Regions from separate parts of the Homo sapiens genome. Here region 2 is linked to region 1. Evidence: promoter capture Hi-C in human tissues and cell types (Jung and others, 2019). All regions are on one chromosome and are shown on one strand. The core of a region is centred on a gene start or on the middle of the fragment in contact, and the rest is flanking DNA. Distances in the headings are between cores, read along the strand shown.

Region 1 (6,946 bases), core at 3,004-5,503:
GAGAACAAATAAAAAATAAGATGTTAGAGCTCCTAAAAGGGGAGTATCTGAGTTTTCTGAGAGTAGGTCAGTCATAATCTTTGTTTTTCCCAAGATTTAGGACTTAGAGAATTCAGTAGATAGACAATTGAATAAATAGTACAATGTGATAGGATACAATTAAAGATTGATGCTGTTGTGTTCAAGAAAAAATAGGCTTTTCTTAGTTGATGATGGAGCTGAGGAATAGTCGTGTCTAGCTTCTGACCTGGGAAATGGCAAGAGGGCTCTGGGGGCCTGGAATTCCTAGGGACGGAATGGGAGTTATCAGTGGGGACCAGTGCCGAGCTGACACATGTCTGTGTTTGCCAGTGACGCTGCCCGCCACCATCATGACGTCATCCGTGCCCACAACTGTGGGTGGCCACATGATGTACCCTAGCCCGCATGCGGTGATGTATGCCCCCACCTCGGGCCTGGGTGATGGCAGCCTCACCGTGCTGAATGCCTTCTCCCAGGCACCATCCACCATGCAGGTGTCACACAGCCAGGTCCAGGAGCCAGGTGAGTAGAGGAGCAGGGCTAAGGAAAGGAGGACCGTTTCCTTCTTTATACACACACACACACACACATACACACACATATGCACTGATGCCTACAAATATTTCTACCCAAATACAACACAGACTTGGATGCTCACACACACATTTGGACACCCCACTTGGACACTCACACCCGCATGCACCCTCAGACACACTGGCACCCTTTCCCTTGGGCTCTTACATCTGAGACTGCCCCAGTCACTTGTGCATTTGACACCACTCCTCCAATATCTGGAAGTTTCAACAAACAATTTGAGTATCTCCTGTGGTTTTCCAATGTAGGTGGCGTCCCCCAGGTGTTCCTGACAGCATCATCTGGGACAGTGCAGATCCCTGTTTCAGCAGTTCAGCTCCACCAGGTAGGTAGGGATATCTTTCACCCCATCCCAGATAGCCACTTCTTTGTCTTGACCTTAGGGGATCCTGTTACCAGTTCATCAAAGCCAAAATCCCTAGCCTGGAAGCCCATCTGCTTTTCTGCTCAGGCCTGTGGTTGGCAGGCAGGGAAGCCAGGGGAGCCTGAACTGGCTGGCCAGTCCCTGCCCCTCCTCATACATCCCCTTCCCTCCAGATGGCTGTGATAGGGCAGCAGGCCGGGAGCAGCAGCAACCTCACCGAGCTACAGGTGGTGAACCTGGACACCGCCCACAGCACCAAGAGTGAATGATCCGCCCGCCGCCCTGGACAGATGGCCCAAGGGATGGCACCACTTATTTATTGTTGCCTTTTCACGTTTTCTTTACACACACGTTGACGGGCCGCAGGAGGGAGGCGGGGAGGAGGAACGGGCAGCCACAGGACTGAGCCCTCTCACTCCAGCCAAAGAAATGGGCCTGCCTGCCTCCACCCGTCCTCCCTCAGCCTCCCCTTCTTCCCGCCCCACCTCCCATTTCTGTTGCTGGAGGGGCTGTCCTCCTTCCTGGGACCCCCTCGCCAGCTTGGCTCGATGTTTGCCATGAGTATTAGCTTACCCAATGGGACCGTGCCCCACCTCCCCACACACAGGCCTTCTGTGGGGCTGGGCACCGTGTCCTCCTCTGAGGAAGCAGTTGGGGCCCTCTTGCCAGCCTCCTTGCTGACCCCAGGTCAGCCCTGTGTCTGTCACAGGCTGGGTCAAAAGAGCCCTGGCTCTGCCCCTCAGGGGGCCAGCTGGGGAGATGGGGGCTTCTTCCTCACACTGCTGTCCTCTCCCCCTTCAGCTCCTGAGTAGCTGGGCCTGTGCACTGGGCAGGTTCCTGGGGCCGCCTGCCCTGCCTTGCCGCTCCCCTTGGACCTCCAGGGGCTCCTGGGTTGGAGGGAACCACCAGCGTTCCCTTCTCCCCCTTGTCTTCCCCCCTCTCCTCCCAGCTGCTTTACTTAAAGTTGATTTTGAACTTTTTATTTGAGGAGACGAAGTGAAAACAAATCTATAAATATATATTTTTAAAATATTTAACTTTTTTTTATGGCGTTTTTCTCGTCCCCCTCCCTGCCCAAACTCCCCTTCCCTGGGGAGCCCTCAGGCTCCCCAGAACTGGCTGGGCCCCTGGGGACAGAGCCACCCCATGAGCTCGGGGTCCACCAGTGTGTGGGGGAGATTCTGGGTTTGCCCAGTCCTGGGTTGTTTCCAGGAGAAAGCCGGGGGAGGGGCCCTCAGGCCATTCCCCAACGGGGTGGGGAGGGTGACCCACAGCTCTGGGCCTCTTTTTGCCCTTTAGGGCTGTTGCTAGGGAGAGGGAAGAGGGAGACCAAATGTCGGGGTTGGGGTGGGAGGGCGTCAGGCAGAGGCAACTGACTTCATTTGTGCCACACGCATGGGCATTGCAGCCTTGCGCTGTCCCAGGCATGCAGCTGCCTGGGGCCCAAGTTGCAGTGAGCAGGGTGGGGTCTGGGAGGGGGTGAGAGGCAGGAATGGGGGTCAGAAGAAGTGGGAGCAGCTTCTTGGGCTGAGTGCAGCCAAAGGGGAGCCAGAAATGGGCAGTTCTCCCAGGGAGTGAGCAGCTACTGTAACTTTTTTAAATTAAGACAAAAAGCCTTGAAGAAAATGACTTTATTTTTCTAAGTGTAACCTCAGTATTTATGTAATTTGTACAGGGGCCATGCCCCACCCCCCTCCTCCCCCTTTGGGGTAGACCTTGAGGGTGGGCCAGCATAGGGGGGAGGGTCTTTTACCCTGTGTCAGAGCCTACCTTCACCACCTATATCCAGAAGGGGAGCTTTTTCAGAAACAGGGCAGCAGTGGGGTGAAATTTTCTTAACCCCTAAGACTGCCTTCAGTAGGAACAAGCTGGCTTCTGTGATTAGGTGAAGGGATGGGGGAAGATTTTATGCACAGCCTAGTTATCAAGGGGATGATTTGCCGACATGTTTGAGAACCCCCTAACCTCTAACCCTCATTGCTGTCTTGCCCCAGTTTGGGGTGCCAAGATGGAAGTCACCTTTCTGGGCTTTCTCCTGGAGATAGCTGGGGCTTATGGGTGGCTTTCAAGGCTGGGGCATGGCAAATCAGGGGCCAGAGAGCAGGGGAGCTTGGGACTCAGGTCTGTAACTGCCCAGCCCCTTTTCTCTGCTCTTGTTTCACTCCACCATCACTCACTCACTCCCCACTCCCCCACCCATGGGGAGGAGACCTTTGATGAATTCTTCCTCTCCTTCCCACAAAAGACAGACCCAGTGAGTGAATCAGGCAAAGTGCTTATAATGTGTGTTGTGTGAGCGTGGCCTTGGGAGGACATGCGTGTGTCAGGGATGAGTTGAGGTGATATTTTTATGTGCAGCGACCCTTGGTGTTTCCCTTCCTCGGTGGCTCTGGGGTATGTGTGTGTGGGTGTGTGCGCCTGAGTGAGTGTGTGTGCTTGAATGTGAGTGTGTATGTCAGTGGTTTCTACTTCCCCTGGGATGCTGACCCAGGAATAGTGGACATGGTCACAGTCCTATGTACAGAGCTTTCTTTTGTATTAAAAAAAAATACTCTTTCAATAAATGTATCATTTTTGTGCACAGACTGTGGGGTCTTTGGTTCTGTTTTTCTACTTAGGGAGGGATGGGGGTATGAACGCGAGGCAAACTCCTAAAATTGCTGCTCTGAGTAGCGATCCGGGCTGCTTGATGAGAACGGTAATGCTAAGGTGTGCTTTGGGCTGTTTAATTCTATACGATTTAATTTAAGGAAAGTTTTGCGGGGCCGAGGACCTTCTCCCTGTGCGTGGCTTCGCTAGGTGTTAAGGCCAACGCAGAGGAGCAAATTTTAATTAACAGGAAAAGTGACACAACTAATCCAAAGCATTGCTGAAGGGTTTGGGAAACTCATGGGCACCTGACCTACTGAAAAGTCAAAAAGGGCAGCCTTAAGGTGGGAATGTGGGTTACCATGTTTCGTCAGCATGATCGCTGTGATGGGAGAGGGAGGATTAGGAGGGCCGACCCAGTGAAGAGGAGGGGGCTTCACAGTTGACTGGATGGAAACGGCTTCTTCCTGCTGCTGAGAGAGGAGCAACGTGACCTCGATCCCAGGCTCCTCCGGTAGCGCGCCCCCACGCCCCTCTTCCAGTGCAGCCGCCCGCGGTAGCACGCATGCTCCACTCGCGCGCTGTTCCGCCACGCTCGGCGTGGGCCGCGGTGGGACCCGTAGGTGCCCGGCCGTGCGTGCACTCGCCGTGTGACCCGGAAGGGAGCTCTGAGGAGGCGGGGCCAGGACGGCGGGACCGGCCGCTGGGTCCCAGCGAGGGCTGAGCCGGGCGGTGGGAGGTGAGAGGAGAGTTCTGCGCCGACCCAATCCCTCCCCTTCTCCTGTCCCCTCCCCGGTCCTTTAGCCACTGTCCATGGGGCTGACGAAGGGAACCAGGTCTTGCTCTCTGAGATTCACTGGATCTTTTCAGCTTTTTTGGACCGCGCCCCCAACCATCCTTCCCCCTCCCCCCAAACCCGTTCCCTCTGCGGTGCTGGCCTCCTCCACCTCCCCACGGCTCTGCAAGCTTGGGCTTGACCTTGCTATCTGCTGGTCTCATCCATGCGTCCAGAGCTCACCCCCACACCTCAGTTTATTGTTGCTCTTCTAGGCCGACGTTACACCTCCTACCTCCTCCTATCCGATTCTTTTACTTCCCCCTGCTGCTAATCAGTTGCCCGCTGGCACATCGCTGGCTACCATCCAGGCTTGCCCCCCATCCTAAGTGGACCCCTACCTCCATTGAGGTCCACATCCATCTTTCTCCCTCCTCTTCACCTCTACTCTCATCTTCTGTCCCTGTACCCCAACATGACCCCTGCCCTGACCACTATATCTTCATCTGGGTTTACCTTCTTCCATTCTTATTCTCACTATTCCCTGTTGCCCCTGCACTGCTTCATATCACGCATATCTTTCCTGATTATTCCACTCCCATTTATAATCGGTCTTAATAACTTTGCATTTATTTGATGACTCCCCTACCTTCTCCATCTAAGAATAATAACAGATTATGTTTACTGAACACTCTTTATGTGCTAGATGCTGTTCCAAGTGCTTTACATACATGATCCTACTAAATTCATGAAGTAACTATGAATATTACTACCATCTTGCAGAAGAGGAAACAAGCTCAGAGGTTAAGTAACTTGTTCCAAACTATGCAGACAGTGAGACAGAAAGCCAGAATTCAGAGTCACATTTATCTGATACTGAAGTCTCTGAATATTGCTTCTCTCCTGACCTCATTTCCTACCTTTAACCCCATGATTACCACCTCTATCTTATCTACTTAACTTACTTAAATCCTTACCATACATGCAGTATAAGGGCAGGGTGGGACCTGGTCATCTTTCCCATAATTTTATCTGGTCCCTAGGGCCCTCCCCCTTTCACAAGACTCGAATATACTTTTCCTATCCAGTCATTTGCCCCAACATCCCAGCCTTTTGTCATCTCCATTCTCTATATCTGCCATGGCCCACCCTTTACATCCACCTTGCAGCTTTACTCTGTCATTTATGCTCCCTGTCCTGCCCCTCCGCTATCCTACTTTTCCTCACATGTTCTGATCCCACTGCCTCACATGCTGCTGTCCTTCCTGTCCACCCATGTCATTCTTCTAAGTCCTAATCTGTAACCCTCAGCCACCCTGCTATCCTGCCTAAACTGTCTTGCTTAACTGTCACTCTGTTTATTGTTACTTTGCCTATTACTGTTTTAATTCTCTTTTTGTAAACTCCCCTTCCTTCCTTTCTTCCTTCCTTCCTTCCTTCCTTCCTTCCTTCCTCTCTCTCTCTTTCTTTCTTTTTTTCTTTTTTTTGACAGAATCTCACTCTGTTGCCCAGGCTGGAGTACAGTGGCGCGGTCTTGGCTCACTGCAACCTCCGCCTCCTGGGTTCAAGTGATTCTCCTGCCTCAGCCTCCTGAGTAGCTGGGACTACGGGCATGTGCCACCACACCTGGCTAATTTTTGTATTTTTAGTAGAGACGGGGTTTCACTATGTTGACCAGGCTGGACTTGAATTCCTGACCTCGTGATCTGCCCACCTTGGCCTCCTAAAGTGCTGGGATTACAGGCGTGAGCCACTGGGCGCAGCCAACTCTTCCATTTCTTAAACCCCTTCTTCATCCCCTCTCTGTCTTCACTCCATTCTCCTTCTGTTATAAATCCCAAAGTATGTTCAGCTATTTATTCCATCCTATTTTTTGCCTTTTCTGTTTGGCCTCCTAAATTCTACCATGCAGCCTACCGATCACCACCCACCTTCTCTGTGTCTCAAGATTCCACCCCCTCCATGTATTTTTTTTCTTTTCTCATACTGCCTTATCTTTCTCCTTGTGTATCCCAGGAGGTCAGGATGGTGGGGGAACGGCATGCTGGGGACCTCATGGTGCCCTTAGGGCCTCGGCTGCAGGCATATCCTGAAGAACTCATTCGACAGAGGCCTGGGCATGACGGGCATCCTGAATACCTGATCCGATGGAGTGTCCTGAAGTGTGGGGAAGTGGGCAAAGTGGGTGTGGAAGAAGGCAAAGCAGAGCACATCCTCATGTGGCTGTCGGCTCCTGAGGTCTACGCCAACTGCCCTGGGCTGTTAGGTGAGCGGGCACTATCTAAGGGACTTCAGCACGAACCAGCTGGGGTTTCAGGAAGCTTTCCTCGAGATCCAGGAGGCCTGGATGAAGTGGCAATGGGAGAGATGGAGGCTGATGTTCAGGCGCTGGTACGCAGGGCGGCCAGGCAGCTGGCAGAAAGTGGGACCCCAAGCCTCACGGCCGCTGTGCTTCACACCATCCACGTGCTCAGTGCCTACGCCAGCATCGGGCCCCTCACTGGTGTCTTCAGGGAGACAGGAGCCCTGGACCTGCTCATGCACATGTTATGCAATCCTGAGCCTCAGATCCGCCGGAGTGCAGGCAAAATGCTGCAGGCTCT
Region 2 (6,946 bases), core at 1,541-4,040, 1.4 Mb before region 1:
TTCGTGGAGGCGCAGCAGAGGGCCGTCCCTCTTCCGGATGTCGGACTAAGCGAACAGCGCCCCCACTGCCGGCCGGTAGCAGCCGGAAGTGCCAGACCGGAGGTGCGTCATTCACCGGCGACGCCGATACGGTTCCTCCACCGAGGCCCATGCGAAGCTTTCCACTATGGCTTCCAGCACTGTCCCGGTGAGCGCTGCTGGCTCGGCTAATGAAACTCCCGAAATACCGGACAACGTGGGAGATTGGCTTCGGGGCGTCTACCGCTTTGCCACTGATAGGAATGACTTCCGGAGGTAACCGAGCCCGAGGAACTTGGTCCTTTTCTGGCCCTTAAATCCGTATTTCCCCTTTCTTGCGAGGCTGGCGCCTCAGGGTTTTTTGTTTTTGTTTTTTAACATTACCAGCATTGTGGCGTCTTCGTAGCTCTGGCTGTGCCTCACTGAGATCCCTGGCCAGGAGAGTTCCCGTGTGGCAAAAGCGATCTTTCTGTCATGTGGCTGTATCTGTAATGTCACCCTGATCAAGGGAAGAAGTGCTAGCACGTAAACAGGCTTTTTCGGCCCTGGACTAGTGCTTTAGCTGGGCTTTGCGTTTGATCTTACATTTCTTTTTTGTTTTTTTTTTTTTTTTGAGACGGAGTCTCACTCTGTTGCCCAGGCTGGAGTGCAGTGGCGCGATCTCGGCTCACTGCAAGCTCCGCCTCCCGGGTTCACGCCATTCTCCTGCCTCAGCCTCCCGAGTAGCTGGGACTACGGCCGCCCGCCACCACGCCCTGCTAATTTTTTGTATTTTTAGTAGAGACGGGGTTTCACCGTGTTATCCAGGATGGTCTCGATCTCCTGACCTCGTGATCCGCCCGCCTCGGCCTCCCAAAGTGCTGGGATTACAGGCGTGAGCCACCACGCCCGGCCTTTTTTTTTTTTTTTTTTTTTTTTTTTGAGACGGAGTCTCACTCTGTCGCCCAGGCTGGAGTGCAGAGGCGCAATCTCGGCTCACTGCCCCTTCTGCCTCCCGGGTTCAAGCGATTCTCCTGCCTCAGCCTCCCCAGTAGCTGGGATTACAAGCGCGCGCCACCACGCCCAGCTAATTTTTGTATTTTTAGTAGAGACGGGGTTTCACCATCTTGGGCAGGCTGGTCTCAAACTCCTGACTTCTCGATCCACCCGACTCTGCCTCCCAAAGTGCTGGGATTACAGGCGTGAGCCACCGCGCCCGGCCACATTTATTTCTTTTTGAGACAGCCTCGCTCTGTCGCCCAGGCTGGAGTGTAGTGGCGGACCTCAGCTCACTGCAGCCTCCGCCTCCCGGGTTCAAGCGATTTTCCTGCCTCAGCCTCCCCAGTAGCTGGGATTACAGGCGCGCACCACCACGCCCAGCTAATTTTTGTATTTTTAGTAGAGACGGGGTTTCACCATGTTGGCCAGGCTGGTCTCGAGCTCCTGACTTCGTGATCCGCCTGCCTTGGCCTTCCAAAGTGCTGGGATTACAGGCGTGAACCACCGCGCCCAGCCTGACCTTACACTTACTAGGCACAAAAATGAACTCCAAATTCCCACGTGGGTCTTGAGCAACCTGCCGTCACAACCACGTATCAACGCCTCGGGAAGGTGGTGATGGAAGCCTTTCCCCCCAGTACATTTCGTTAACTGTACAACTGACTCAGTGACCACAGGGTTAATAAAACACATTGTTTTTCCAGGAACTTGATACTAAATTTGGGACTCTTTGCTGCGGGAGTTTGGCTGGCCAGGAACTTGAGTGACATTGACCTCATGGCACCTCAGCCAGGGGTGTAGCCAAGTAGGTAAGCACTGAACTACACCCATGCGTGTCTTAGGAGACCTAGAGACTGGGTGAAGCAATGTTTTCTGTCAAGTATTCATGAAATGTACAAAAGAATGTGATGTAAAACCCTTAACTATTCCTAGTTAAATGTGTTTTCAGATGTTGAAAGGGATTTAAGTATCTCTTACCAGTTTCCCTCCCATACTTTTACAGTTCTAATGCCACCTGTCGTCTTATCATCTGATTGCAGACAAATGGAATCCTGTGCTGAACCCGAATCTTCCAAAAAACAGCCTACAATCTGTGACCACCACAAGATGTGCCCTGATGGCAGCTGAAGTTTGATTCAGATGGGCACTTTTCTTCCCCTTCCCTGCCTAGTTTCCTTTTGTTCCTTGAGTCCACGCAGAATTCCATTCTCTGGTCAGCAGACAGGCTTAAGCTAAAGTATTGCCTCTATTCTGTAAAGTTCTGTACATAGTTCCCAAGCTTCTGCAGGGGGTGATTTTTGCTCTTGTCCTGAGAAATAACAGTGCTGTTTTAAAAAACATTTGAAATAAATACCGCACACAAAGGCAGTCATTTTATTCTTTTAATAAGAAACTTTTGCTTACAAAAACAAGGTGTAAAAAGATTTACAAAAATCATAAAAACATGATTTATATTTCACACTTGAGAGACAAAAACAAGCCCCAAAACATGGATTTTAATGGAGGTGGTTTGCTTCATTTTAAAAGGGAAAAAAAAAAAAGGAAGCTGTAACCATACATTGATGTTAACCTAGCATGAAGTTTATTCTTGAAGAATTTACATTGTTGAGCAATATTAGGGGAAGAAGCCATTTGGTGTTGCATAGCATTTTAGTGCACCAGATGGGTTTTCCAGACACCAGGGAGGCATCATTGCTGGAATAGTGAGGTTTGGTGGCAGAAAGAGGGCAGTGATGTGTAGGGGGAGGCAAAGTGAAGTAAGCCTGGGCAGTGGTCACTAAAGTGACACTGCTGAGGCAGCTGCTTCCTTCAGAAGGAAATGTTTTGTGACCCTAAAATTCATGGTAGTGCTACTGTCCAGGGTTTGGGGGCTCTTTGGAAATGGAGTATGTACGGAACTGGCATGTATAGACTTATATAGCCATAGAAAGAGGTGGATAGAAACAGGTCCACCATGGCAATATTTTTTTCTGGCCAGTTTACTAGGCATTAAAAAAAATACTGCTTTTATGTGCCAAGTCTCTTATGGAACTAGTATGGGATTAAAGGACGTTAATTGGAAAGGAGGGTCAGTATATAAGGACCACAGTGGCCTGTTAAGGATGACAGATGTCTCTAGCAGTTTGTTCACTACTAAAGTTAAACAGGACAAAATAGTCTTTCCTGACCTTGCTGGCATAAATATTAAGAAAATTGTTTGAGAATTAGATTTTTTTAGTATGTATATAAAAACAGCACCATTCTTTGTATAAATCAGATAGATCTTATCTGATAGATGAAGCTAAGACCCTTTGAGTCTACACTGGGTTGACTCTGAGAGGTTTATATCTTATTGGGTATTAAGATAAAGAAGGGTCACATGAGAGCAAAGCTTAGCTTTGAAGCCATCACCTCCCAAATGGTGACCAAGGAGGAAACTTTTAAGCCATAGTATAGATGCTAACCCCCATTTAGACCTGCATCAGATCACTTGCTAAGACAAGAAATACCAGCACCTCCTGTTCTTTATAGGAATGAAACTTAGATCCTTAAAGGCTGCTACCTGATATACTCATGACTGGACAGTTTTGATAAAAACTTCCAAAATTGAAAATCAAAATCCAGCAAGAATTAAGACATGGCAGCTTCCAAAAGCATAATTCAAATTTCATTCAAAATTTACTGTTTTGGCTTCAAGTAAGTGTTTACTGTTGGTTGGGTTTTAAAGCCATAATTATGGTTGAGTAAGGATTCATTTATTTATTTATTAAATTTTTATACATTTTTGAAAAGATTTCAAATCTATGTTTCCCAGGCTGGTCTTGAGCTCCTGGCCTCAAGCAATCCTCCCACCTTGGCCTCCCAAAGTGTTGGGATTACAGGTGCTAGCCAACTGCATCCAGCCAATGTTTCATTTCAACTGGCTTAAATCTTCAAAGTGGTTAAGAATTTAGTAAATAAAACTACTTAATCTACAACTTTCAAAAATTGATGAGTAATCACTAATTCTGTAAATGAAGGAGTTGGACTTCACTATTGCCAAAGCAACATTTTCCCCAAGGAAAGTCAATTTGATATCCTGTCACACTTTTCAGCCCTGGCTAGTTAACACAGTACTATGAAAATCTTTAGCTAGATTTTAAACGAAATATGCCAGCAGAAGTATGGAATGAGTCCACAAAAATGAGTGCCTGCCACAATGCTATAGTAGCTATGGTGTATTTAGTGCAGAGTGTGGGATGAATAAGTACATAGTAATTAAAGTCATAGTCCTGGCCCAACAGAACAGTTACTAAATGTAAGATACAAACTAAACTCACAGTCATATTTAGAAGGCGCTTTTCAGCTTTAGCACTGACTTAAAAAGTCTGAACCACCAGGAAGATGCGTACTTAACTGGTTAAAAAATTAAGTGGCCCTGGAAAGTTTTACCCCAAAGATACAACTTCTTCACTTATTTAGTTCAGTAATGAGGCTGAGGGACCCAATTTTCAAGTGTGCATTTGAGTGGGAAACTTTTAAACACCATATGTTGAAGTTTCATGAGCTCAGTGGAAACCTTAAGGTCAGAGTAAAAGAAACTGGCTGTAAACAGCCCTGCAGTGAAGAGACTGGGTCTTAGCACCTTCCACATTCACTCAGCGCCATCTCAGTCAGCGCCTGCCAGGGAAAGGGCATGGAGAGCTGGGACGGGTGCCTTCTCTTTTGCACCACTCCCTTTGCATATTACACAGTGCACTGGCTTGCCTTACAATCTAAGGTTCACATACAGGGGGTTTTCTATACTGCTTCCGGACATTTTTTGCAAAAGAACATCAGAACCAATGAAGGTACCATTTCAGGAGGAATCATTTTTGTTTGACTTCTGCTATATGTTGCCCAGCATTAGTCATTGTTTTGATAAAGACTAAAAGGCCTTTTCTCAACATTTGTGCTCTCCCAACCACCTGGGAAAGCAACCCTTCCACTCACAAGAGGTAACCTCAGATAGGGATATAGTATTCATTTAAGAAGGGGTAGCCCCCCAGCCTGATTTAAAAAGGCCCAAGTCAATGTATGGAACATGACAAGGGAAGTGAAAAACAATGGAGTACACAGTCTGCCTTGAAAAGCAGCCATTTGATGAACAGTCACAAATACAAAGAATTTGGACATTGTAACATAATTTCAGAACTTGCTGGTAAGAATAATTTGCATTCACACACAAGAGACATGAAATGCTTTTTAAAAGTCTGTGATACCAGATGTCCTTTAAACACTACACAGACCCATTTGCCACTTGAAATGACAAGAAGAAATCCTTTCCCTTAATCTTTTCAATTCCATGCAAACCGTAATTGAGTACAAGGCACCAAATTTTATGAATTGTATAAAATTAGTTCACAAAGCTTTATCAGTAAGTAGAACAAACTCCATTTCTCCCTCCCGGCCAGCCCACCCTCCTCCCACCCACCACCCGCCATCCCCGACCAAGTTTTCATTCTGCACTACTGTCGACCTCTCTAGGGCTTATGCTGGGGCATGCCCCACTGTCAGCCAATCCACCTCATTGGTTCTTCCCTTGTACTTGGATGAAGCTGTAAGCACAGCCAGAGTAGCAAACTCATACAATCATTGACTCTAGAAGCCTTGCCATTAAAAACAAAAATAAACTCTGCTATTGAGTCCATAGGACACATTAACACTTCTACAGTTTCCAATTTTATTCATGACATTTTAAGAGACATCTGGAAATTCTTTTTTTTTTTTTGTTTTTGTTTTTGTTTTTTTTTTAAGACAGAGTCTCGCTCTGTCGCCAGGCTGGAGTGCAGTGGCACGATCTCGGCTCACTGCCCCTTCTGCCTCCTGGGTTCCAGCGATTCTCCTGCCTCAGCCTCCCAAGTAGCTGGGACTACAGGCACGTGCCACCATGCCCAGCTAATTTTTGTATTTTTAGTAGAGACGGAGTTTCACCATGTTGGCCAGGATGATCTCAATCTCTTGACCTTGTGATCCGCCCTCCTCGGCCTCCCAAAGTGCTGGGATTACAGGCATGAGCCACCGCGCCCAGCCTGGAAATTCTTTACAGTGTAGCACTGCCCCCCAACCCTGCCCCATAACTCCGAGACTGAGGGGCTGGATCAAAGCTGGCAAGAGCTCTGTCCACCATTTAATAAGAGCTTCAGTTCTGCCAAGGGCATTCCTAACTATTTTTATACTAGCATGGATGTTCGTCTCAGAGGCAACCACAGATATGAGGGTCAGGCTAGATTGAGGTAAAAAAAAATCCTTTTTGAGGGCCTAGGTGCACTCATCTTGGCTGGCTACAGCAGCAAGTAAACATGCCAGCCAACTAACTACAAAGGGTTCCTGGAATGAGACTCTTAACTACTTGCCCTGGGAGAGAAGCAGGCCCATTAAGGTTCGGTTAGGAGACCTTGGGTTTGATTTGGCAGCATCTAGTCAGTTTTTACCTGGTTCTTATTTTCTTCTCTTTAGAATGATTCAATTTCAGATGCAACTGAGACATTCATCTATACCCAGTACGTAAATAAATTAAAGGCAAAGGGACATTTCCCTCACAATAGCCATTGGCTTATGCAGCAGGGAACTCTTCTTTAATAAAAATCTCCTTAAATACTAACGTCCTAAGTGTCCAGTGCTGCCGCCTCTGGGTACCTGAGGTGTCTGTAACTGCAGTGGGCACCTTTCACAAATGTGTAGCTCAGTGGAGACTCTGATGTTAGTTTCTTTTATTACTTTGATATATGCGTGCTCAGCTAAGTTAAGCACTTATTTCACAAAGTCCTTAATCTGCTTAATAAATCCTTATAATATTTGGTATAAAACTATTTTTAAAAATTAAATTGGAAGATCTTTGAATTTTCCATTAAATGTTTATTAATAATTATCCCCACTGGACAGCCTGAGGGGTAAAGTAGATGCTCTATTAGTTCTTCTCTATCTTGTAAGTTCTTTTTTTCTAGAATAA

Evidence for each region. Contacts are between HindIII fragments. The study calls those that stand out against the background at their distance.
Region 2: a fragment that was not itself captured here is called in contact with the fragment with the promoter of CUL9 in region 1 in 1 of the 25 tissues and cell types used here (spleen).

What each region holds. Positions count from the first base shown.
Region 1 is chr6:43,177,943-43,184,888 of GRCh38, forward strand. It overlaps CUL9 (cullin 9), which reads left to right and starts at 4,254. Exons shown (of 41, transcript NM_015089.4): 1 at 4,254-4,307; 2 at 6,360-6,946. The coding sequence starts at 6,369. It overlaps SRF (serum response factor), which reads left to right. Exons shown (of 7, transcript NM_003131.4): 5 at 352-543; 6 at 864-940; 7 at 1,153-3,564. The coding sequence ends at 1,248. RefSeq lists enhancers at 1-422, 423-922, 3,925-3,994 and silencers at 4,245-4,384, 4,405-4,454. The HindIII fragment of the contact is 4,480 bases long and covers 1,120-5,599 here.
Region 2 is chr6:41,787,532-41,794,477 of GRCh38, forward strand. TOMM6 (translocase of outer mitochondrial membrane 6) reads left to right here and starts at 163. Exons shown (of 3, transcript NM_001382294.1): 1 at 163-294; 2 at 1,701-1,805; 3 at 2,037-2,364. The coding sequence starts at 167. The coding sequence ends at 1,797. USP49 (ubiquitin specific peptidase 49) reads right to left here. Exons shown (of 8, transcript NM_001286554.2): 8 at 2,365-6,946. RefSeq lists enhancers at 1-850, 1-610. The HindIII fragment of the contact is 3,149 bases long and covers 1,217-4,365 here.